Regions from separate parts of the Homo sapiens genome. Here regions 1 and 3 are each linked to region 2. The links are contacts of gene promoters, found by promoter capture Hi-C in blood cells and fetal thymus (Javierre and others, 2016). All regions are on one chromosome and are shown on one strand. The core of a region is centred on a gene start or on the middle of the fragment in contact, and the rest is flanking DNA. Distances in the headings are between cores, read along the strand shown.

The links. Contacts are between HindIII fragments. The CHiCAGO score rates a contact against its expected background, and 5 or more counts as called.
Region 1: a contact is called between a fragment that was not itself captured here and the fragment with the promoter of OR7E24 in region 2, in 1 of 17 cell types (total CD4 T cells). The highest score is 5.3, in total CD4 T cells.
Region 3: a fragment that was not itself captured here is called in contact with the fragment with the promoter of OR7E24 in region 2 in 1 of 17 cell types (naive CD8 T cells); the score reaches 5.6 in naive CD8 T cells.

What each region holds. Positions count from the first base shown.
Region 1 is chr19:9,722,201-9,725,535 of GRCh38, forward strand. LOC105372270 (a long non-coding RNA gene) reads left to right here. Exons shown (of 2, transcript NR_187774.1): 2 at 1-210. It also overlaps the pseudogene LOC100130854. Among named protein-coding and RNA genes, the nearest start is that of ZNF846, 45 kb to the right of the region's middle. The HindIII fragment of the contact is 2,804 bases long and covers 591-3,335 here.
Region 2 is chr19:9,248,950-9,252,701 of GRCh38, forward strand. It overlaps OR7E24 (olfactory receptor family 7 subfamily E member 24), which reads left to right and starts at 1,981. Exons shown (of 1, transcript NM_001079935.2): 1 at 1,981-3,676. The coding sequence starts at 2,095. The coding sequence ends at 3,114. The HindIII fragment of the contact is 19,830 bases long and covers 1-3,752 here.
Region 3 is chr19:9,526,019-9,529,382 of GRCh38, forward strand. ZNF426 (zinc finger protein 426) reads right to left here. Exons shown (of 8, transcript NM_024106.3): 8 at 1-3,364. The coding sequence ends at 2,362. Among named protein-coding and RNA genes, the nearest start is that of ZNF426, 11 kb to the right of the region's middle. The HindIII fragment of the contact is 1,097 bases long and covers 1,310-2,406 here.

The DNA.
Region 1 (3,335 bases), core at 743-3,242, 470 kb after region 2:
ACCCTCTCCATTAAAAATGCTCTCCATTGTGTGATGTGCTCTCGCCATTGCTCCACCCACAAGATACACTCTTCTATACAAGTAAATTTGCCTAGCTGAGAAAACTTATATTCAAATGCTATTTCTTTTGTGGCACTAAAAATTTGTTCCAACAATAGATTTCTGTGGTTTTAACCTCACTTATTTAAAATTAAATGGATTTGTAAGCCATTTGGTCTGTGGTATTTTGTTATGGTGGCCTGAGCTAAGGCAGATTTTGTACTGAGAAGTAGAGGTACTGCAATTAAAAACAAACAAACAAACAAAAAACTAAAAACGTGAAGCAGCTTTGAAACTGACAAATGAGTAGAAGCTCGAAAAGTTCTGATGTGCAAGCTGGAAATAAGGTTGATAAGGGTAATTCTGGTGAGGTGTCACTGGGGAATGAGGAACATGCTATTGGAAAATAAAGAAAAGACAACCCTTGATATAAAGTGGTGAAGAACTTGGCAGAACTGTATTCTAGCATTTTGTGGAAGGTAGAGCTTCAGAGAGATAAAATTGAGTATTTATCACTAAGATCTGTAATTAAAGTGTTAAAGGACACAGGAAGCTTCATTCTTCCTGACTGCTTACAGGAAAATGCAAAAGAGGAGACTTGAATTGCAGAATAAATTGTTAAGGAACAAGAAACCAGAACTTGGAGATTTGGAAAATTCTCAGCCTATTCATACTACAAAAATTAGAAAACTTGTACTGAAGAGAATCCTCAAAGTGTGGCTGAAAAATCATCTCATAAAGAGATCATGAGTGGGATTCATGGACTATATCAGCCATCTTAAGAGAAATGAGGAGAGAGACTGGATTACACTAGAAGAGACACTGCCACTTACATTGTGCCATGTAAAATGGACAGAGAAGGCAGAACAGAACAGGCAAGGCTGTCACACTTCTTAGATTTTACAAGAAGCGGTCACAGAAATAATCAGCTTTGAAAGTGCACTGGCAGTAAAAGATGGTTTCATTCCTGCCATGATCTGCAGGATCCCTGGGAACAGAGAAGACTCTTGGAGGAGCATCTTTTAACAACCCAACTCTGGGGCCTACATTATCTTGGCTTCTGGTAAATTTTGACATGAATGTGCCACTGGCAGCCACTAACCAACAGGGGCTGGGGTCAATCTGCATGATTTATCTCACACAGAACTTGTTAATGCTATGATCTTAGGAATCTAATCAGCAAGGTGAGGCAGCCTGCAGTACTGACCTCACCATCCATGACCCTTCTTCACAGATACCAAGACTCAGGCAACCATGAAGTTGTATTCAGAAGCTGTAGGTTTAATTTCAGACTCTTGGGATGGCATCTAAGGCCAGTCCATCAGCCATTACAACCCTCACAAGGCATTTAGGACAAATCTGATAATCTTCTGGTGTCACTGCCAATAATTAAAGATGGCAACCGATGAGCTAAATGGTAACACTCATACCCTTATATTCATAGGGTTTCTCCCCAGTGTGAATTCTTTTTTTTGAAATGAAGTCTCACTCTGTTGTCCAGGCTGGAGTGCAGTGGCTCAATCGATCTCGGCTCACTGCAACCTCTGCCTCCAAGGTTCAAGGGATTCTCCTGCCTCAGCGTCCTGAGTAGCTGGGACTACAGGTGCATGCCACCATGCCTGGCAAATTTTTTGTACTTTTAGTAGAGATGGGGTTTCACCGTGTTAGCCAGGATGGTCTCAGATCTCCTGACCTCATGATCCACCCACCTTGGCCTCCCAAAGTGCTGGGATTACAGGCATGAGCCACTGTGCCCAGCCATGATTTTATGTCTACCTAGGTGTGAGGAAACAATAAATGCTTTCCCATATTCTTTACATATGAAGGGTTTCTCTCCAGTATGAGTTTGCAGGTGAATATTAAGGGATGAGGAAAATATAAATGCTTTCCCACATATCTTGCATACAAAGGGCTTTTCTCCACTATGAGTTTTCAAATGTTAAGTACGATGGGAAGAAGTAATGAAGGTTTTTCCACATTCAACACATTCATAAGGCTTCTCTCCCATCTGAATTATTGTATGTTGAGTAAGGCCTGAGGATCTAGTGAAGGCTTTTCCACATTTGTTACACTGATAGGGTTTCTCTCCACTGTGACTTCGTAAGTGTATAGCAAGGCCCGTGTACTGAGTGAAGGCTTTCCCACATTCCTTACATTCATAGGGTTTTACCCCAGTGTGAGTTCTTACATGTTCAGTAAGTTGAATTGATCTAGTGAAGGCTTTCCCACAGTCTGTATATTTGTGTGGTTTTTACTCCAGTTGGAGTTTGAATGTGATCATTAAGATATGAGGAATTTCTAACGGAAATTCCACATTCTTTACAATCAAAGGACTTCTCCTCTTTATGAGTTTTCACATGTGCAGAAAGTTGAGAAAAATTAGTGAAGGATTTCCCATATTTCTTAGTCTTTTTGAATTTCTTTCCAGTATGAGCTGTTACACACTGCTTTAGGTGTGAGGAGGGTGTGATGGTTCTCCCACATTCCTGAAATTCAGAGTTTCTCACCAGCGTGAATTCCCATGTGATTATCAAGGCTTGCAAAACACTTAAAGCCTTTTCCACATTCCTTACATTTGTACGGTTGTCTTGCATTGAGAACTTCAAGATGTTCAGCAAGGCCTGGAGTTAGGGTGAAGACTTTTCCACATGGATTAAATTTAGAAAGTTCCTGTCCAATAGAGGCTTCTTTGTGCACACTAAGGGTGTCTTTTCCATAACAATTACCCTCAAAAGTGTTCCCTCCATTCTGAGCTCTCATGTGTGTCTTAAGGAAAAACAGCTCCCTGAAGACCTCTTCACAATTCTTACAGAGTTTCCATCCACTGTAGCTTCTTGTCTGCTGATGAGGGGATAAAGGATTTAAAACATTTTCCAACATATTAAGAGATTTCACCCATTTGAACACAGAAACATTATTTTGATGACAATTATTATTTTACTTTTCAATGATTAAATTTTTTTTGAGACAAAGTCTTGTTCCATCTTCCAGGCTGGAATGCAGTGGCACAATCTGGGCTAACTGAAACCTCCACCTCCCAGGCTCAAGTGATCCTCATGCCTCAGTCTCCCAAGTAGCTGGGAATACAGGTGCTGCTAATGCACCCGGCTAATCTGTACCAAGTCAGCCACAAACGCCAGGCCATGTTCTGAGCTGATTCATAAGGGCAGTCCAAACCCAGGAATAAGATCTCAGAGAAGCACACAGGTTACCTCGTAGACCTTTTCAGTTGATGTTGGATAAGCCTCCACCCACCCAGAGTAAGTACACACAAGAACCAGCAAATAATTGTTACC
Region 2 (3,752 bases), core at 731-3,230:
TGTCTGTGTCTCTGAGGCTCAACACTATCATCTGAGTTGATTTCTGGTAGATCCCACTGCAGTGAGCAATGATTAAACAGACCGTGTGTGCTCCTGTGTGATCCCTATGTGATGGATGCATAAAGTGAAGTGTATTCTACATGTTTTCTATTAATATTCCAAGGTTAATCTCCATACCATTGAACTGAAATATCCAGGAACCTAGCTATGGTTCCCAATGTCTCTGACAGGACATTTAATTTTTGCCCTTATATAAGTAAGTACTGAGGATTGTGAGAGGAATATTTGAGTTTCTTTCAACTCTGATTTCCCAGAGCCTGTATCTTGCTTGGTACAGAGGAGACACCAAAAATTAGAATCTCTGTTACATATTGAATAGACCCTTCCTTAGTTCACAAAACTGGCTGTGATCAGTGTGACTTCAACACACTCACTGCTTTCCTATCTGTACTTTCATTCCTTCCAGGAATGTGTCACAAACTAGGCAGAAGGTAAAATAGCACTTTTTTGTGTCTATATTATGGACACATAATAATAGCATCTACAACATTCAATTACTTAAAGACCATGGCAGAGATTTTTACAGGCATAAAAAAAGAGAAAAGGATGCAGAAGGAAGTGGGGGCAGGTAAACCTTATTGTTTAGATCAAGATACATTTTAGAGTTTCACATGATTCCAGCCACAACGAAAGTAATGCCAAAGTATTTTAACATTACCTTGGCCAGGCACAGTGGCTCACACCTGTAATCCCAGCACTTTGAAAGGCAGAGGTGGGCAGATTACTTGAGGTCAGAAGTTTGAGACCAGCCTGGCCAACATGGTGAAACTCCATCTCTACTAAAAATACAAAAATCAGCTGTGCATGGTGGGGCGTGCGCCTGTAGTCCCAGCTACTCGGGAAGCTGAGGCATAAGAATCGCTTGAACCCAGGAGGCGGAGGCTGCAGTGAGCTGAGATCATGCCACTGCATTCCAGCCTGGTGACAGGCTCAAAACTTCGAGACTCAGGTCTTAAAAAAAAAAATTAAAAGCATTTTAACATTATATTAATGTTCTGTCATCCACAGGTACGTTGCACACTATCAACATCTTTGCTATCAGTGATGTCCTGGTAATTATGTGCATTTAACTAAACCTTCCTTTTAATTACTTATTGATTTAATAGTCAAGGTCTCACTCTGCCACTCTGCCTAGAGTGCGGTGGTATGATCATGGTTCAGTGCAGCCTCGAACTCCAGGGCTCAAGCGATTCTCCTGACTCAGCCTCCTGAGTAGCTGGGACTACAGGGCGGCGCCACCATGCCTGTCTAATTTTTTAGTTTTTTGTAAAGATGGGGTTTTGCTGTGTTTTCCAGGCCGGTCTTAAACTCACATCCTCAAGCAATCCTCCTGCCTTGGCCTCCCAAAGTGCTAGGATTCCAGGTGTGAGCCACCACCCTGGGCTACTTTCTTATCAAAACTCCAAGTCCACCTAAGGCAAGGACAGGAATTATAATTAAGTGAATTTTAAAAGAAAGCCCACATATTTGAGTGAGTACTTACTTCCATGAAGAATGAAAGTCAGAAAACGTAAGAATGATGGAAACCGTAGAATATAACTGGTATGTAAAGATGTTTTCTGGCTATGAACTATGAACTTTCATTGAGTTTTGAGACAACATGATCCTAGATCTCATTGAGTGTTGATAAATATCCTCAATCAATGGAATTTGTAGAATTGTATTAGAATAAAACAAGACATAGCTGACTCCTTCTTAGTATCCTTTCAATGGATTTAATCTTTTTCTTAAAGGGGCAAGAATATTTTTGTTGTATATTTTTTCCTGATAAATTAGGCTATATTTTACCGTGATCATGGATTTCTAAAATCTCTAATGTTTTTGCTCTCCTAACATTCTTCAATAGACTGTCTCTAAGTTAAGTGTATACAGAAAGAGGTGAATAACACAAAATCAATTATGAAGTAACTCTAAGGAAATTGGGTTTGTCACAACTGAGAACTATTGCTGAGGGTGTATAATCCTATGTGAAAACTTAATTTCTTAATTGCTTGTATCCAAAATATAGACACAGTGCTAGATGCTGGTTTACTTATGTCCTATTTTCCAATTCTCTTTTTTTTTTTCCTCAAAAGGTGTCCGAGCTACACAGAGCCACAGAATCTCACAGGTGTCTCAGAATTCCTCCTCCTGGGACTCTCAGAGGATCCAGAACTGCAGCCGGTCCTCGCTGGGCTGTTCCTGTCCATGTACCTGGTCACGGTGCTGGGGAACCTGCTCATCATCCTGGCTGTCAGCTCTGACTCCCACCTCCACACCCCCATGTACTTCTTCCTCTCCAACCTGTCCTTGGCTGACATCGGTTTCACCTCCACCACGGTCCCCAAGATGATTGTGGACATGCAAACTCACAGCAGAGTCATCTCCTATGAAGGCTGCCTGACTCAGATGTCTTTTTTTGTCCTTTTTGCATGTATGGATGACATGCTCCTGAGTGTGATGGCCTATGACCGGTTTGTGGCCATCTGTCACCCCCTGCACTACCGAATCATCATGAACCCACGCCTCTGTGGCTTCTTAATCTTGTTGTCTTTTTTTATTAGTCTTTTGGACTCCCAGTTGCACAATTTGATTATGTTACAGCTCACCTGCTTCAAGGATGTGGACATTTCTAATTTCTTCTGTGACCCTTCTCAACTCCTCCACCTTAGGTGTTCCGACACCTTCATCAATGAAATGGTCATATATTTCATGGGTGCCATATTTGGCTGTCTCCCTATCTCAGGGATCCTTTTCTCTTACTATAAAATTGTTTCCCCCATTCTGAGAGTTCCAACATCAGATGGGAAGTATAAAGCCTTCTCCACCTGTGGCTCTCACCTGGCAGTTGTTTGCTTATTTTATGGAACAGGGCTTGTAGGGTACCTCAGTTCAGCTGTGTTACCATCCCCCAGGAAGAGTATGGTGGCTTCAGTGATGTACACTGTGGTCACCCCCATGCTGAACCCCTTCATCTACAGCCTGAGGAACAAGGACATTCAAAGTGCCCTGTGCAGGCTGCATGGCAGAATCATCAAATCTCATCATCTCCATCCTTTTTGTTATATGGGATAGAAATGGCAGCAAAATTTAACACCTAGGCCTGCAAATTCTGCCTCCTTGGTCACATTATTTTGGTTGCTTGATGGCTTTCATTCCTCTCTGGGTTTCGTATGTGAATATTGCTTGCTTTGTTTTGTCTTTAATTGCAATGGGTGAGTATTCTGGTATCCTTTGTTCATCATACACATCATGAATGATTCCAATATACCTAGACAGCCTCCTTTAGTATCTGTGCAATGACCTTGATATCCAGGTGCAATCACAATCTTTTCTGATAGACTTGAAATCCTCACTTAACTTTGTCAAGAGGTTTTTGGAAACTGCAACTTTAAAAAAAAAGCGCAGCAGGTCCTGAAATAAGTTCATTTTGTTCAATGTTGTTTAGTTTTAATTTTGGTGAGAAATGAATAAATTGGTTTCATGGTTCATCGTTTTGCTTGAATTGTGGTTTCTAATTTTCTGTGGAGGATGTTAAGTGAGGACTTATCGTACTTCGTATTTACCTCCCTTTCTACAGTTCCTGTGTAATTTCTGTCCAAATCGCATCTAGGAAATCACTTTAGGCAGCTTACGTATGATGATGTCTATCAATGGTCCTCACATTTGGTTTTATTGAAATCACCTGGGGACCTCACAAATACTGAGGCCTG
Region 3 (3,364 bases), core at 608-3,107, 280 kb after region 2:
AAGGGAAATATCCAACTCCAGCCAACTCTATACATCCTGACCCAACTAAAGGGTGGGAAAAACTGAAGTTCACAGTGCAGAAGCACAGACTCACTGCAAGACTGACATCTAATCCCTGGACAATAGAATGCTGCCCCTCTCCCCACAGCTTATCATGATTACTAGAGGCCTGCTTACAGCATTTCCTCTTATCCAGTATGCCATGTCCAGCTAAGGAAAAATTACAAGCATACTAAAAGGCAAAAGTTAGTTTAAAGAGAAAGAGTAAGAACCAGAACCAGATATAGCAGGATTGCTGAAATTATCAGACTGGGAATTTAAAACAATTATGATTGATATGCCATGGGTTCTACTGGATAAAGCAGACAGCATCCAAGAACAGACAGGCAGTGTAAACACAGAGATGGAAATTCTAAGAACCACAAAGAAATGCTAGAAATTGAAGACAGTGTAACAGAAATGAAGAATGTCTTTGGTAGGCTTATTATTGGCCAAGAAACAGCCAACTAAAGAGCTTGAGAATATATCAGCAGAAACATCCACACCTGAAAAGCAAAGAGAAGAATAAAAAAACAAGATATAAGAACTGTGGGATAACTACAAAAGATGTATCCTACATATAAAGGAAATACCAGATGGAAAGAAAAAAAAAGGGAAACAATGACAGAATTTCTCAAAATTAACTCAGACACCAAAACGCAAATCCAGGAGGCTAAGCAAACACCAAGAAGGACGAGCACCAAAAACCTATACCTAGGCATATCATTTAAAAATAACAGAATATCAAAGATAACAAAAAATTTTCATAGAAGCCAGAGGGGGGGAAATGCTTTAAGTATTGAGGATCAAGTATAAGAATTACATCCAACTTTGAGCATAGAAGGAAGAAGTGAAGGTAAAATAAAAATGTTTATTTTTCTAATACTTAATTGATCTGATAACTTCTGAAAAATAGCTACAATGTATTAGATTACATATGCTAATTTGTGTGTGTTTATAGGCATAAAAGTGAAATATAGTAATGATGGAAGGTCTGAGAGGGAGGATTTAGGATTATTTTGATAGTATAAGGTACTAACACTACTCAAGAAACGGTACAGTATTATCAGAATTCATGTACTTATTATGGCATGTGAAATATTTAAAGGTTATACCATATTCCTTACCTTCCCAGGGTTCTGAGGTAATTTTACATGTGTAAAAAAAATTCTGTGGAATTAATGTAAGGCTTCCTACATGCATTACAGGTAAAAGGCTTCTCTCCAGTTCGACTTCTTACACCTTCTAGAAGGTAGAAAACATTAATGTAAGCTTTTCCACAATCCTAATGGGATTTCAGTCCACTCCAAGTTCCAGTATGGTGTATGGGGTCACATTCCTTGCGTTCACAGTAAAAGAAACTTTCTTTCCTTTTTTCTCCTCTATTTTCACATGGTCTACGACCAGACAACTTGCATGTGAATATTAAAATATAGTGAACATTCACAGGCTTTTTCATGCTCCTTACATTCATACAATTTCTCTCCTATGTGATTTCTCCTGTATGTAGAAAGGACTGAAGACTCAATGAAGGCTCTCCCACGTCTTACATTCATATAGTTTCTCTCCAGTGTGGCTTTGCATGTGAATATTAAGGCTTTTGGACAATCTATAAACGTTTTTGCTTATTGCTTACTGTATTCACTTGCTAGAGCCACCACAACAAAATACCACAGACTGGGTGGCTCAAACAAGAGAATTTTATTTGTTCAAAGTTCTGGAAGCCCAAGATGAAGGTGCCAGCAGGGTTGGTGGCTTTGATAGAAGGATCTGTCCCAGTGCTCTGTCTTTGGCTTGCAGATGGCCATCATCTGATGACTTCACATCATCTTCTATTTGTTGTCTCAGTTGTGTCTTTCTCTTCTTATAGGGACACCAATCATATTGGATTAGGGATGTACTCTAACAGACTCAATTTAATCAAATAATTTTCTTTTTTTTTTTTTTTTGAGATGGAGTCTCACTCCATCGCCCAGGCTGGAGTGCAGTGGCATGATCTCTGCTCACTGCAACCTCTGCTTCCTGGGTTCAAGTGATTCACTTGCCTCAGCCTCCCAAGTAGCTGGGATTACAGGTGCCCACCACACCTGGCTAAATTTTTTGTATTTTCAGTAGAGACAAGGTTTCACCATGTTGGCCAGGGTGGTCTCAAACTCCTGACCTCAAGTGATCCACCCACCTCAGCCTCTCAAAATGCTGGGATTACAGGAATTAAGTAATTTTCATGCAGCTTCTTCTCTCCAGAGTGAGTTCATTCATGTCTTTAAAGTGAACTGGAACAAATGAGAGCTTTCCCACATTTATTACATGGACAGTTTCTCACTAGTGAATTTGTTCATGTCTTCGAAGTGAACGGGGATGACTGTAAGCTTTCCCGCATTGCTGACATTTATAGGGTTTCTCTTCTGTGTGAGTTTTTTCATGAATTCTAAAGGAACTGGAACACGTGAAGGCTTTCCCACACTCCTTGCATTCATAGGGTTTCTCTCCAGTGTGAGTCCTTTCATGTATTTGAAATGAACTGGAATGACTGAAGGCCTTTCCACATTGTTTACACTCATAGGGTTTTTCTCCAGTGTGGATTCGCATGTGAATTTTAAGGTGGGTGGAATAGTTAAAAGCCTTCCCACATTCCTTACAGGTGTATGGTTTCTGGGCACTGTGCGTTCGCATGTGATTATTAAGACATGAGGGATACCCAAATACTTTCCCACATATCTTACACTCACAGGCCTTCTCTTCAGTGTGAGTTCTCAAATGTCCACTAAGATTTGAGGAAACTGCAAAGGCTTTCCCACATTCAACACATACAAAAGGCTTCTCTCCAGTGTGAGTTCTTATATGTTGAATAAGGCGTGAGGATGTAAGGAAGGATTTCCCACATTCCTTACATTCATAGGGCTTGTCTCCACTGTGAGATCGTACATGCATACTAAGGCCCGAGTACTGAGTGAAGGCTTTCCCACATTCCTTACATACATAGGGTTTCTCTCCAGTGTGAGTTCTTCCATGTATCTGAAATGAGTTGGAATAATTGAAGGCTTTCCCACATTCCTTACATTCATATGGTTTCTCCCCAGTGTGGGTTCGCATGTGAATACTGAGGTAGGCTGGGTATCTATAGCCTTTTCCACATTCCTTACATTTGTAGGGCTTTTTTGCATTGAGGGTTTCTATAAGCACAGAAAGGCTTGTAGAGTCAATAAAACCTGGCCCATAATTCCTCCATTCGTAGAGTTTTTCTCCATTGTGAGTTCTCATATGTGCCTGAAGGTATGACTCATTAATGAAGGATTTTCCACAGTGACTACATTCAAATGACTTT